Linked DNA regions of Homo sapiens: all the other regions are linked to region 1. Evidence: promoter capture Hi-C in 16 types of primary human blood cells and fetal thymus (Javierre and others, 2016). All regions are on one chromosome and are shown on one strand. Each heading gives the region's core, a stretch centred on a gene start or on the middle of the fragment in contact. The rest is flanking DNA. Distances are from core to core; before and after follow the strand shown.

Region 1 (2,700 bases), core at 142-2,641:
GGCGGGAAACTAATCTTACAAAGGAGGCTTCCTCTTTCCTTTTCCAGTGGCATTCCAAGCTTCCTTTGGAGTGCCCTCCCTCCTGATTTACAAATTGGCCTGACGTTATCGGAGTACAGGCTTTTTCCTGGTGGTTTCTGGCCTAACAGGAGACAGATTAGTAAGTACCAGGATCTCTAATAGGTCAACTTTCATGATCTCTGCTAAATTCTCAGCTGTTTAGACTTACAATTTTTAACAGCTAAAAGGAAAGACAAATGCTATCTAAAACTGTCCCATCAGCCCATTTACAGGGAGCACCTCCCCCATACCGCCCTAAAATCCTTTAAAAAATGGCTTTAGTCATTTTATCTGCCTTGCATTTAAGCGAATTCAGTTTAAGTGGCTTCAGTTCTGAATTCCTGGATTATATCGAAATGTTGCAGATGGCGGTGTGTGGGCTTTGAGCTCGTAAATTTTTTGTGTGGTACTAATTCAAGACGATTGAGAGCAGGTTGGGATCATTTTAAAAAGAGTTCTCGGCAGGGTGTGGTGACTCAAGCCTGTAATCCCAGCACTTTGGGAGGCCGAGGCGGGCGGATCGCTTAAGGTCAGGAGTTCGAGACTAGCCTGGCCAACATGGTGAAAACCCGTCTCTACTAAAAATACAAAAATTAGCCGGGCGTGGTGGCGTGCACCTGTAATTCCAGCTACTCGGGAGGCTGAGGCAGGAGAATCGCTTGAACCGGGAGGCAGAGGTTGCAGTGAGCTGAGATCGCGCCATTGCACTCCCGCCTGGGCGGCAAGAGCAAAACTCTGTCTCATTAAAAAAAAAAAAAAAAAAAAAAAAAAAAAAAAAAGGGTTCTCTAGTAGGAAGTCCCGAGTTGTATCCATGTTTTTCCGGGCGTCCCCCGGAGGGACAGGTTGCGGGTGACCTTTTCAAGTGTGGAGGAAAGGGAAGCTGCTTTTGTCTTCAGGAATGATGCAGGTCTCGACTCAAGCCTGACGGGCCCAAACCTCCCTGGAGCTGGCTGACGACTCTGCCCGAGTTCCTGAAGAGGGGTCCCGGGGGTCCCGGAGCGGAAGTGGGAGCGCGTGGGCGTGGGCTCCTCGGCTGCCTGGGGCTCCAGACTTGTGCTGCGTGCGGCTCCGGAGCTCTGTTCTCGCTCCTGAGCAGCTGCTAGGTTTCCCAAGCGACTGTCTCAACCGCCCGGCCGCCTCCCCCGGGCAGCCAGAGCTTCACATCTACCTCCAGCCGGGACCCGCCCCCGAGCCGCGGGGCCCACGCCCAGAGCCCTCCGCCGTCCCCAGCGCAGTGCAGCAGAGCGCGATCCAGTCTGGGGCCGGGCCGCGCTTCCGCGCACGCGCGGAGAAACCCGCGCCCTCCGAGGGGGGAGGGGACAGAGGGGGCGTCACGGGGGCAGGAGAAGAAGGAGGAGGAGGCCCGCGTCGCCTCCGGCGGGGCTCGCGCTCGCCCCGCGCTCGCCCTCCGCCTCGCCCGAGCCCCGGGAGGGTGAAACGCTTTCTCCCAGCATGCAGCGGGAGGAGGGATTTAACACCAAGATGGCGGACGGCCCGGATGAGTACGATACCGAAGCGGGCTGTGTGCCCCTTCTCCACCCAGAGGTGAGGAACCGTGCTGAGTGGATTCCTTGCCCTGCGGCCCTCCAGCCTTTCTTCCCCGGACTCGCCGAGGGCGGCGGCCGACGTGTGTGGGGTAGTGGGACGTGCCGAAGTTGGGGAGGGTGGGGAGGCGAATCCAGGCCTGAGCGCGGCTGCGAGCGGATAACGGGGGAGGAGATAGCGGGGCGGGCCCGACCGGGGCGGGCTCTGGGACGCAGTCCCTGGCTGTGCCTGGAGGACAGAGGTGGAGGTGTTGATGGTTCTGCTGTGTCGCCGCGCTGCGTTTGAGAGCAGAGGCGGAGGGGCCTGGTGTGGTTTTTGAACCGCAGCTTAGACCCTAGTCTTGCTCCAAGCCTCTTGGGGCCAGGTGGAAGCGCGTCTGGTTTTGATTTCTTTTTCCTTCGCCAGGGTGAATGACGGTATCTATTGCTTCCTTTTAGTCCACTGTGAGGGGACAGTTTCATGGGCATAGTGATGTCCTTCCAGGTAATGCCATGGGTAGCACCTCGGGCACCTTGTGTCGGGCGTCCTTTTTTGAGCATTTGTCCTTAAGCGATTAAGAAGAGAGGTAAAAACTTTTGGGAATAGACTTACACTCACATTAGCTTGTCAAAGTACCGTTTTTCTAGGAGCTAGGGGTGGACAGTGCAACACGTTTCCCATCACAACATGAGTGTCTTCCCATGTAAGTAAACAGTGCCCCGCTCCACAGTCAGTCAGTCTGTGCTTGTTTACCTCCGAGTTTGTAGCTGAGCTAGTGCTAGTTAAGGCTTGGAAGCAATTCTTGATGCATTCTGATTTTTAGTGATCCACAGTGATGTCTGTATGCGGCAGCGGCACAGTTTGCTGAAGAACTCGGGTAGTTTTCATGAGGTTAAAAGATGACAGTCGTGTTGTAGGATGAACAAACATGGAAGTCTCTACCTGGTTACTTTGCAATGGAGTGATTCTGTTTTTTTCTGGATTTGGGTTTGTACCATGCCACTAGTTTTTGTTAAAAAGTGAATAATGACAACCATCCTTTTATGTTGCATGTTAACACTCAACCACCCTCTCATTCGTCACTTTGGTTTATCAAAAACACATGGGACAGTTCC
Region 2 (2,700 bases), core at 108-2,607, about 11 Mb before region 1:
GTAACCAATCAACTCTTTCTGTACCTCACTTCTATTTTCTGTACCTCACTTTACTTTCTCTCTCCATAAATTTTCTCCCACCAAGCGGCAGGACTCATCACTCTGAACCTTATTCTGGTTCCGGGACCTGCCCAATTCGCAAATCATTCTGTGCTCAAACTCCGTTAGATTTAATGTGTCTAAAGTTTTTCTTTTAACAGTGCACAACCATGTGAATAACTTAACACTACTGAACTATACACTTAAAAATAGTTAAGACGGTAAATTTTATGTTACCTGTATTTTACCACAATTAATTTTTTTTAAAAAAAAGCTGAGTTCACTGGCCAAAATAATTTCAAAATTCAATTCCAAAAATATAAATGCTAGGCACCAAGATTCTTGGTGCATCAGAACTATCTTCATCTTTCCTTTTCCAGAACAAGTTCTAGGCACTAAGATTCTTAGCACATCAGAACTATCTTCATCTTTCCTTTTCCAGAACAAGTTCCAGCTGCCTAAACAGGCTGAAAGTCTGGGGCTGTTTCGGCGATCAAATGACCAAACTAGAGCAGGCAATGGCTTCCACGTAGATGAAGCTGAGCATTTTAAATTCAAAAATTTCTGCCCATTGGCTACTACGTAATAACTTAAAACACAATTTAGACTGACTTAGGAAGCTTCTGTGTTGAGCAACTTCCTCAATAATCCTCAAAGACCTGTTGCATTCTGGGCCCTGCGGAGAGGAAATAGTGCCGTCAGGGAGCTTCCAGCCTAGCACAGGACGGTAAATATAAGCCTGTAACGCGAAACCCCACAGAACAAAAACATCAGGCCGTGGATTCCACTCGTGTGTACGTCAGTCACAGTGATCAACCGACTCATTTCCACGACGTTTCTTTTCACTTCAAGATGCCAAATTCAGGCTGCGGCGGTTTCCATCTGTCCCTTCCTACACCGCGGCGCCCGCTGGGGAGCCGGGGCGCACACAGGACAGCCGCAAGCCTTCTGGGCCTGGCGCCCTCCCACACCCGCTAGGAGGGGAGGAAGCGCCTCCCCGACTCCCTGAGGAGGGCGCCAGTCCTCTGGTACCCGGAGAAGGAGGGCCGGGAGCTCAGTGAGCACTCCCTGTGAGTCCCAGGAGATGGCCGCTCTCCCTCGGAAGCCGGAAGTCGGCTTCTAGAGGCCGAGCAGTGCAGACAAGCGGCTGGGAGGCACTGGAGAGGGGACAACGTACCCATTCGGATGTGCACGGTGGCGGAGGCCACGCTGCTGCCATAGTTGAAGTCGTCCTCGATCGAGGAGCGAGGGTACCGGGGGTCGGGGTCAGCCATGATGGCAACAGCACCCCTACCGGTCCCGGTCCACTAACCGCAACCGCCTCCTCCCCACTTCCGCGAGGAAGAGCCCAGCCCCAGCAAGCCGTGCGGCGTCGGCGGGCGAACACCGAGCGAGTCGATTTTCTCGCTTCAAAAATTCCAGCTGGGCGGAGAAAGCGGGGATGGCTCCGAGTTAGAATGGAAGAGAAAACGGTTTACATTCCCGGCGTCATCTGAAGTGAAACTTTTCTCAACACACTTTTTTTTTTTTTTTTGAGATGGAGTTTCACTCTTGTTGCCCAGGCTGGAGTGCAATGGCACGATCTCGGCTCACCGCAACCTCCGCCTCCCGGGTTCAAGCGGTTCTCCTGCCTCAGCCTCCCGAATAGCTGAGATTACAGGCGCCTGCCACCACGCCAGGCTAATTTTTTTATATTTTTAGCAGAGACGAGGTTTCACCATGTTAGCCAGGATGGTCTCGATCTGCTGACCTCGTGATCCGCCCGCCTCGGCCTCCCAAAGTGCTGAGATTACAGGCGTGAGCCACCGCGCCCAGCCTGAACACACTTTAAGTCCTTTCACCTTGGAGAGTTGCTAAAGTGATAGAACCCATGTCCCAGTCACCCATCCACTCAACAAATACCCATCTCATTCATCCACTTTTTCAATAATCACACCGAGGATGCATTTTTACTTCTATTATTTTAAAATAATAATAATACCTACATTTATTGAGCACTTTCTATAAACCAGGCTTTCTGAATGAAGTAATATTTAATCCTGAAAGGCAAGTAGGAGCCAACCAGAGAAAGAGCAGTGATGTAGGCTGGGCCTCAAGGGACCAACGTCTGCAAAGAGGGAGACGGTGAAGCTCAGCTGGTGTAGGGGACAGGTGGCAAAGAATGAGGCTGGATAGATAAACAAAGGCCAGATCATCCTAGGCCAGAAGTAGAATACATTGAAGAGGGCCATTACCAAAGGCAGAGAAAAGGGGATAAAGTTGTATTACTGTAAGAGAGAGATGATGGTGGCAAATACAATGGATTAGAGTGAATATTCATGATATTGTTGTCATTCCAATATAAAGAGGTGTAGACATACCCAGAGTAGTGTCATCCTAGGGTCCCTTGGAATTGTTTTGATGAGTTTACTCTGATCTACCCACATTGCCCAGTCCTCACCTTAACCACAACACCCGAACACTTAGCAAGTGGAATTCAGAACAGTTGTGGAACAGTCTATTCTAAACTAAATCCTTAAACTTGATGTTCTCAGAAGCCTTTGCCAAAAGAACTAACGTCACTTCCACAATGACAAGAAAAACAAAACAAAACAAAAAAACACTTTATCTTTTATGATTTTACAAACATTTTACAAGCATATCATTTTAATTTGTTTTTGT
Region 3 (2,700 bases), core at 147-2,646, about 14 Mb before region 1:
GACATTTGCTTTGGTACAGAATAATCTGATCCACTGCGCAGTCAATGAGCAGTGAGGGTTGATTCCCATGGCAGTCCAATCTTTGCTTATCAAGGAAGGATGGTGTGAAGTTTCTACAGACTTTCTGGTAAGTGATTGATAGATGAGTTTATGGTGTGATTGAGTTTTTGCTTTGAGTTTATGCTTAGTGATTGATAGGTGAGTTTATGCTTTGTCAGGTAAAGCATTTAACTGCAAATGTATTATGTTTACACAAATATTCTTAATTGGAAATAGTTTCTGAATATGCACCTAAAAATGTTCTTATGAAATATGTCAGGCAGGCTGATTTTTAACTTGAAAACTTCTACTTTAAGAAATTGTTTGGGTCCCATCGCCTATACCATGTAGAATAGAAACAAAAAGCCAGTTATTTAATTTTTAATTTGCAATTAAACTCTTGGCCAAGAGGATCTGTTGTCCAAAATTACATCGTGATAGCTTAAGAAAAAAAAAATCTTACTTTGCCAGAAAGGGAATTATACAAGGATATCTTTATGAGTTGCTGCCAAATTTTGTTCTAGACCACGGCCCTCTGGCCTCCATGAAGGATCAAAGTCTGGGCAAAGACAATTCTAAGTTGTAGGTAAACATGCTTTTCATTTCCCTCCATTCCTTACTTTTGTCATAAGCAGTCTGGATTTTCAGGGGTAAAGGCTGATAGGGTTGCCAGATACAGTCATTAAAAATTGAGAATGTGCAGTTAAATTGGAATATCAGATAAACAATTTTAAAAATATATGTAACACACATATGCCAAAACACTGGTTATCTGAAATTCCAATTTAACTGGGCGTCCTGTATTTTATCTGACAAGCCCTAACTACTTCTTTAAAATAATTTGTTAACTTCCTACAAAAAATCTCTAAATGGGAGGAAAAAAAAAATCCCGTAAGTTGTCTGGGCCAAAAGCAGAAGTGGCTCCATGGCAGTCAGCCTTCTCCCTAACTTGGCTTAAAAAGAAAAAGCCAAAACCAGAAGTCCCAAAAGCTTGCGTTTAAAGCGGGCTGTGCCGCAGCTTTCCCGCCTGTTTTCTGCGGAATGTAGCACGGCAGCCACCCCGCGTGGGTGGGGCTCGTATGGTTGTGTCCTTGCTGGTTGGGAAAGGAGGTGCCGGAAACTTCAAACCACGGCCAGGGTACAACGTGTCCGCTTAGGCGGCGATATGCGCCGCCATCTTCTTTGCGGGCAAAGGCCGAAAAAAGTTTGGGACTCCACTCCCCCCCGCTGAGCCGATGGAGGGCATCGCCCGCTGCCTCAGCACTCTGGTGACGTGGAATCGGGGTCCCCTCTTTCAGGGCTGATTTCTGGTAGCACGCTGACGCCTGCCAAGGCAGGGAAAGGGGACGCCGCCTCTGTCCCGGATGTAAGATGGCGGCGCGGGGGGCGGCCTGGCGGGGCGGTCACGTGGTGAGGAGTAGCGCGCGAGCCTCCTTAAGTGATCTCTAAGGTTCGTCCGGACGCACAGGAGCAGCGGAGCGCGAGACGGGTCTTGTGTCCGCACGCGTCGAGTCGTCGCAGTCGCCACCCGGGCCATCGCCGGGCCCGGTTTCACTGTTAAGGGGTTTTCGTTTGTTCCGTTTTCGCCTCCTGTAGAGCTGAACGGGAATTCCCCGAAGGGTGCTGGGGAACGGGTGGCCTGGGGACTTCCCGGCTATGCCTTGGCTGCTGTTTGGCGGAGCCGGCGGCAGCCTCTGCGGGATGCCCGCCGGCGATTATCGGCGCCGAGAGCGGGCCGGCGGCGGGTTCGACAGCGCGGCGCGGGTGGGGGCCCGGGTACCGGACTCGGCCGCAGCCCAGCCCCCACCGGGGACTCGGAGCAGGGAGGGGCGCGAGCGGCGCAGCTCGGGACGTGGCGGCAGCTCCTAGCGGGCGAAGCGCGGGAGCGCTGCTCGCTGCCTCTCGGGGGCAGTCCAGAACCAGTTGGTGTCTGACTGCGCTTTTGCCGCCCATTTCCTGCTTTCGAGCGGCTGAGGCGACGCGCTCCCCTCGGGCAGTGGAGGGAGCGGCTCTCTCCGCAGGACACCGCCGCTTTTCTCTCTTCAGAGCGGTGGCTGACGTACAGAACGCCGGCTGTATCACCCGGGCGCCGGCGCCGCCTCTCATCCCCGTAGCTCTCGGGGCGCGCCGGGAGTAGCCGAGCCGCTGGGTGCTGGGCGGGGTCTCCGGGCGCGGCGCGGGGGGAAGGCAAAGGAAAAGAAGGGGCGGCGGGCCGACGTCGGCGGCGAGGAAGGACGGAGGAGCGCCGGAGCCGCTTTGCTGCCCTCCGCGTGGTCCCGTGCCTCCCCGACACCATGGCCCTGGCTGAGGTAGTAGTTTGTGCTGTTGGTCGGGTTGTGACATTGCCCGCTGTGGAGATAACTGCGCAAGCTACTGCCTTGCTAGTGCTGGTGATGCTCAGCGCCGCGGAGGACAATGGCTGGGAATCCCCTTTGTTTTCCGGGGCGCTGCCTGGGGACAGCCCGCGAAGCCTCGGCGCCCGGCCGGCGCGGCCACCACGGAAACCGTTAGTTTCACATTTTCCTAGAAGGAATTGAGGGGAGTGGGGTGGACCGCGATGCATTTTAAAGGTTGGGAAAGAGCTAAGCCATTGGATTCCTTTTCTTGAAGGAAGGAGTGGAATTGTGTAAGATAATTGATACAGATAACTTTTTCACCCTA
Region 4 (2,700 bases), core at 77-2,576, about 14 Mb before region 1:
CCTGAGACCTCAAGAATAATGTCTGCCATATATTCCATTTGAACTTTTTTGCTAAATTCACCAGTTTTCATACATAAAGCTTATACCATAGGAGGTGTCAAGTTTCCCAGAAGTTGTGTAATAGGCACAAATGATCAAAATTACTGCCCTAGGAGCTCTCTACTATTACCTCATCTGTCCCCTTTATCCATCCTTGCTTTGCTTCTTATCAGAAGGAAAAATAAAATAAAATTATTTAGCTTACAAAGTAGCTCTGTTACAGCCAAACAGCGCTATCCACTGACAATCTCATGGCTCACTGTCTTCCATCATGTCATAAGCTCAGCTGTCTGAAGGTGTTGGTTTCTTCATCTCTACTGTTTCTGGTTTTTCCTCCCTCATTTTCTGCTTTCTGACCAGCAGCTGCAAAATGTCTTGGGGAAAAAGTAGACCAACCTGGATCTTGGGGAAATACAGATGAAGATTTTTCTGTTTGGCTTTTGCCTCATATTTATTTGGCACTTCAGACCTGATGAAGGCTTTTATGTATCTGTGCCTTATTTGAGCCTCGAAACTCTGATTTTATAATAGAAGGGTATTCATTCAACAAGTATGTACTGATTACCTGCTATATGCCAGACACTGTTCTAGGTGCTGGAGATACACAGGAAACAAAATAAGATTTAAAAAGAGGAAGAACCGGCAGCCCAACTCGCGAAACTCTCCTTTTAGCTGGGAGCATCTGCCAGTAAAGGGGCCGGGACAGATCTCGTAGCGCCTGGTAGGTGATTGGAGGAATTTTGGCTTTTACTTTGAGTGAGATGGGAGGCCAGCGGAATGCGTGGAGCAGAGGGTAGTCTCATTTTAGAGATTAGGAAAATAAGAGGCTACCCCACAGTAAGTGCACCAGTTGCGTTTAAAGAAAAAAAATGTATATTAACAGGAGGTAGCCACTGATTTGGGGCCACTAGTCCAGAGATTCGAAATGAAGCGGGAGGAGACACGTTAAGATTAATCTACAGGGAAACAAATTATTTACACCGAAATACAATTTAACACAAACATACGCAAAGAGATATGCCAAGGAGTACTCGGGGGCTCTGTTCAGGCACTTGTTAATGAAAACGAAGCGAATCTTGACGCCTTAAACCCTGTCTAGCCTACTTGATTCCGGGGGTGGGGCTGTGGGAATCGCTGCCCACCCGGAATCCCGCCTGCCCCGAGCATGGCCAAGCCCCAGCCCCGCCCCGCCGACGGCCTGCCGCCGGGGTTGGCCGCGGCGGTGGCGGAGGCCACGGTACCCGGAAGTGCGGCTGACGTGTCCCGGCAGCGCTCGGAATTGTGGGCGACTCGGCTAATGGCGTCGGCGAGTCTTAGGGGCCTGGGGAGCTGGCGCTGAAGCTTCTTGCCAGGTTGGCTGGTGACACCCGGTGTGGCTGGGCCCCGCGGCAGCGGAGGGACCTGCCCGCCTTGTGGGTTTCTCGGCCAGAGTCGGCGGAGCCTAGCGGGACGGTGCGACTGCGGGGGGCGCCTCCGAGAAAAGCCAGAGGTGTTGCGGGGAAGCTGCTGGGGGACGCTCGAGCAGGCTCCGGGTTCGCAGCCCAGGGCCCAAGAAGCGGGCTGCTGAAGGACCAGAGACACCGGGAGGGAGCTGCCTGTGGCCCTAAGGAGCTGACCGTGCCAGAGCTTGTTTGTACCTCTCGGAAATTGGCTGGGACCTTGGAGGATCATGTCCGGCACCAGCAGCCCCGAGGCGGTGAAGAAGCTGCTGGAGAATATGCAGAGCGACTTGCGCGCCTTGTCACTGGAGTGCAAGAAGAAATTCCCACCTGTCAAAGAGGTAAGCTTCAGGTGACGTCAGGAGAAGGCACTGTGAGCATGCCTGGTCCTGTTAGACTCAGTGCTTCACCCCAGTTTCCAGTCCTAATTTTCATTCAGGCCTCACCTTTCCAGATTTGTGAGTCGGTGGGTTGTTCCACAAGGGCTTTTTATAGTTTCCACTGGAGAGGGCTGAGGCACTTTGATTTTCTCCCCTCTCCTGTCCTCCCAGTTTAGGAGTGAAGTTCATGAAGTGAGCCTATTCAGTTAATCCAGCTAGGTGTACTGTGCACTAGCCTATTCTGGCCTTTTTCTTACTTGAAACTGGCCAAACCAAAATTGAAAAACTTGTTTGTTGCTCCCCGAAACGAGTATCCACCCATCTTGTTGAAACCTGTACTCCTCACGTTTATGGCATATCACTGAATTGGAAACAATTTTCCTTCTGGTATATATCATTCAGCTTAACTCTGTATCAATCCTTTGACGTGTTAATAAACTATCCAGAGCCACCTAATTTATGAAGAATATTGAAGATCCACATAATCATGTTAAACCTTGTTATGAGCAGTACTGTAGTGGGAAGTTGGGCTTGCAGTCAGAGCGAATACACCTGAATTTAGTTCCAGCAATAAATCTTAACCTCTTTGAGCTTCGGGTTTTTTTTTCCAGCTGTAAAATAGGGTTAAAGGATGGTTTTATATTATGTATGGGAAAGATGTCAGAGCAGAAGGGTATTATTAAAGAGATCCCAGTAAATAATACATGGAAATTTAATTCTCCAAATAGTTCTTGAGGTGAAATATTTAACATTTGGTTACTATTTGCTTTTTCTCTTAAAATGCCATTTTAATTCTCTAAAAAAAAAAAACAAACAAAAAAACCCACCAAAAACAGGCCCGG

What was found. The method cuts DNA at HindIII sites, captures the fragments that hold promoters and counts their contacts. A CHiCAGO score of 5 or more calls a contact.
Region 2: the fragment with the promoter of TMBIM4 here is called in contact with the fragment with the promoter of ZDHHC17 in region 1 in 1 of 17 cell types (naive CD8 T cells); the score reaches 6.5 in naive CD8 T cells.
Region 3: a contact is called between the fragment with the promoter of MIRLET7IHG here and the fragment with the promoter of ZDHHC17 in region 1, in 1 of 17 cell types (non-activated CD4 T cells). The highest score is 10.6, in non-activated CD4 T cells.
Region 4: a contact is called between the fragment with the promoter of MON2 here and the fragment with the promoter of ZDHHC17 in region 1, in 1 of 17 cell types (naive CD8 T cells). The highest score is 8.0, in naive CD8 T cells.

What each region holds. Positions count from the first base shown.
Region 1 is chr12:76,762,724-76,765,423 of GRCh38, forward strand. It overlaps ZDHHC17 (zDHHC palmitoyltransferase 17), which reads left to right and starts at 1,392. Exons shown (of 17, transcript NM_015336.4): 1 at 1,392-1,606. The coding sequence starts at 1,514. RefSeq lists enhancers at 890-989, 1,286-1,580, 1,556-2,398, 1,590-1,739 and a silencer at 1,130-1,539. The HindIII fragment of the contact is 3,524 bases long and covers 58-2,700 here.
Region 2 is chr12:66,168,639-66,171,338 of GRCh38, forward strand. It overlaps TMBIM4 (transmembrane BAX inhibitor motif containing 4), which reads right to left and starts at 1,358. Exons shown (of 7, transcript NM_016056.4): 1 at 1,217-1,358. The coding sequence starts at 1,313. RefSeq lists enhancers at 510-609, 1,092-1,616, 1,260-1,339. The HindIII fragment of the contact is 2,376 bases long and covers 658-2,700 here.
Region 3 is chr12:62,601,347-62,604,046 of GRCh38, forward strand. MIRLET7IHG (MIRLET7I host gene) reads left to right here and starts at 1,397. Exons shown (of 2, transcript NR_186001.1): 1 at 1,397-1,489. It overlaps LINC01465 (long intergenic non-protein coding RNA 1465), which reads right to left and starts at 2,088. Exons shown (of 1, transcript NR_121682.1): 1 at 405-2,088. MIRLET7I (microRNA let-7i) reads left to right here and starts at 2,340; the gene lies at 2,340-2,423. RefSeq lists enhancers at 691-1,214, 1,215-1,736, 1,251-1,360, 1,441-1,630, 1,737-2,258 and 1 more and silencers at 1,711-2,020, 2,111-2,410. The HindIII fragment of the contact is 3,704 bases long and covers 1,028-2,700 here.
Region 4 is chr12:62,465,500-62,468,199 of GRCh38, forward strand. It overlaps MON2 (MON2 regulator of endosome-to-Golgi trafficking), which reads left to right and starts at 1,327. Exons shown (of 35, transcript NM_015026.3): 1 at 1,327-1,819. The coding sequence starts at 1,709. RefSeq lists a silencer at 1,029-1,348 and enhancers at 1,379-1,488, 1,484-1,983. The HindIII fragment of the contact is 1,301 bases long and covers 78-1,378 here.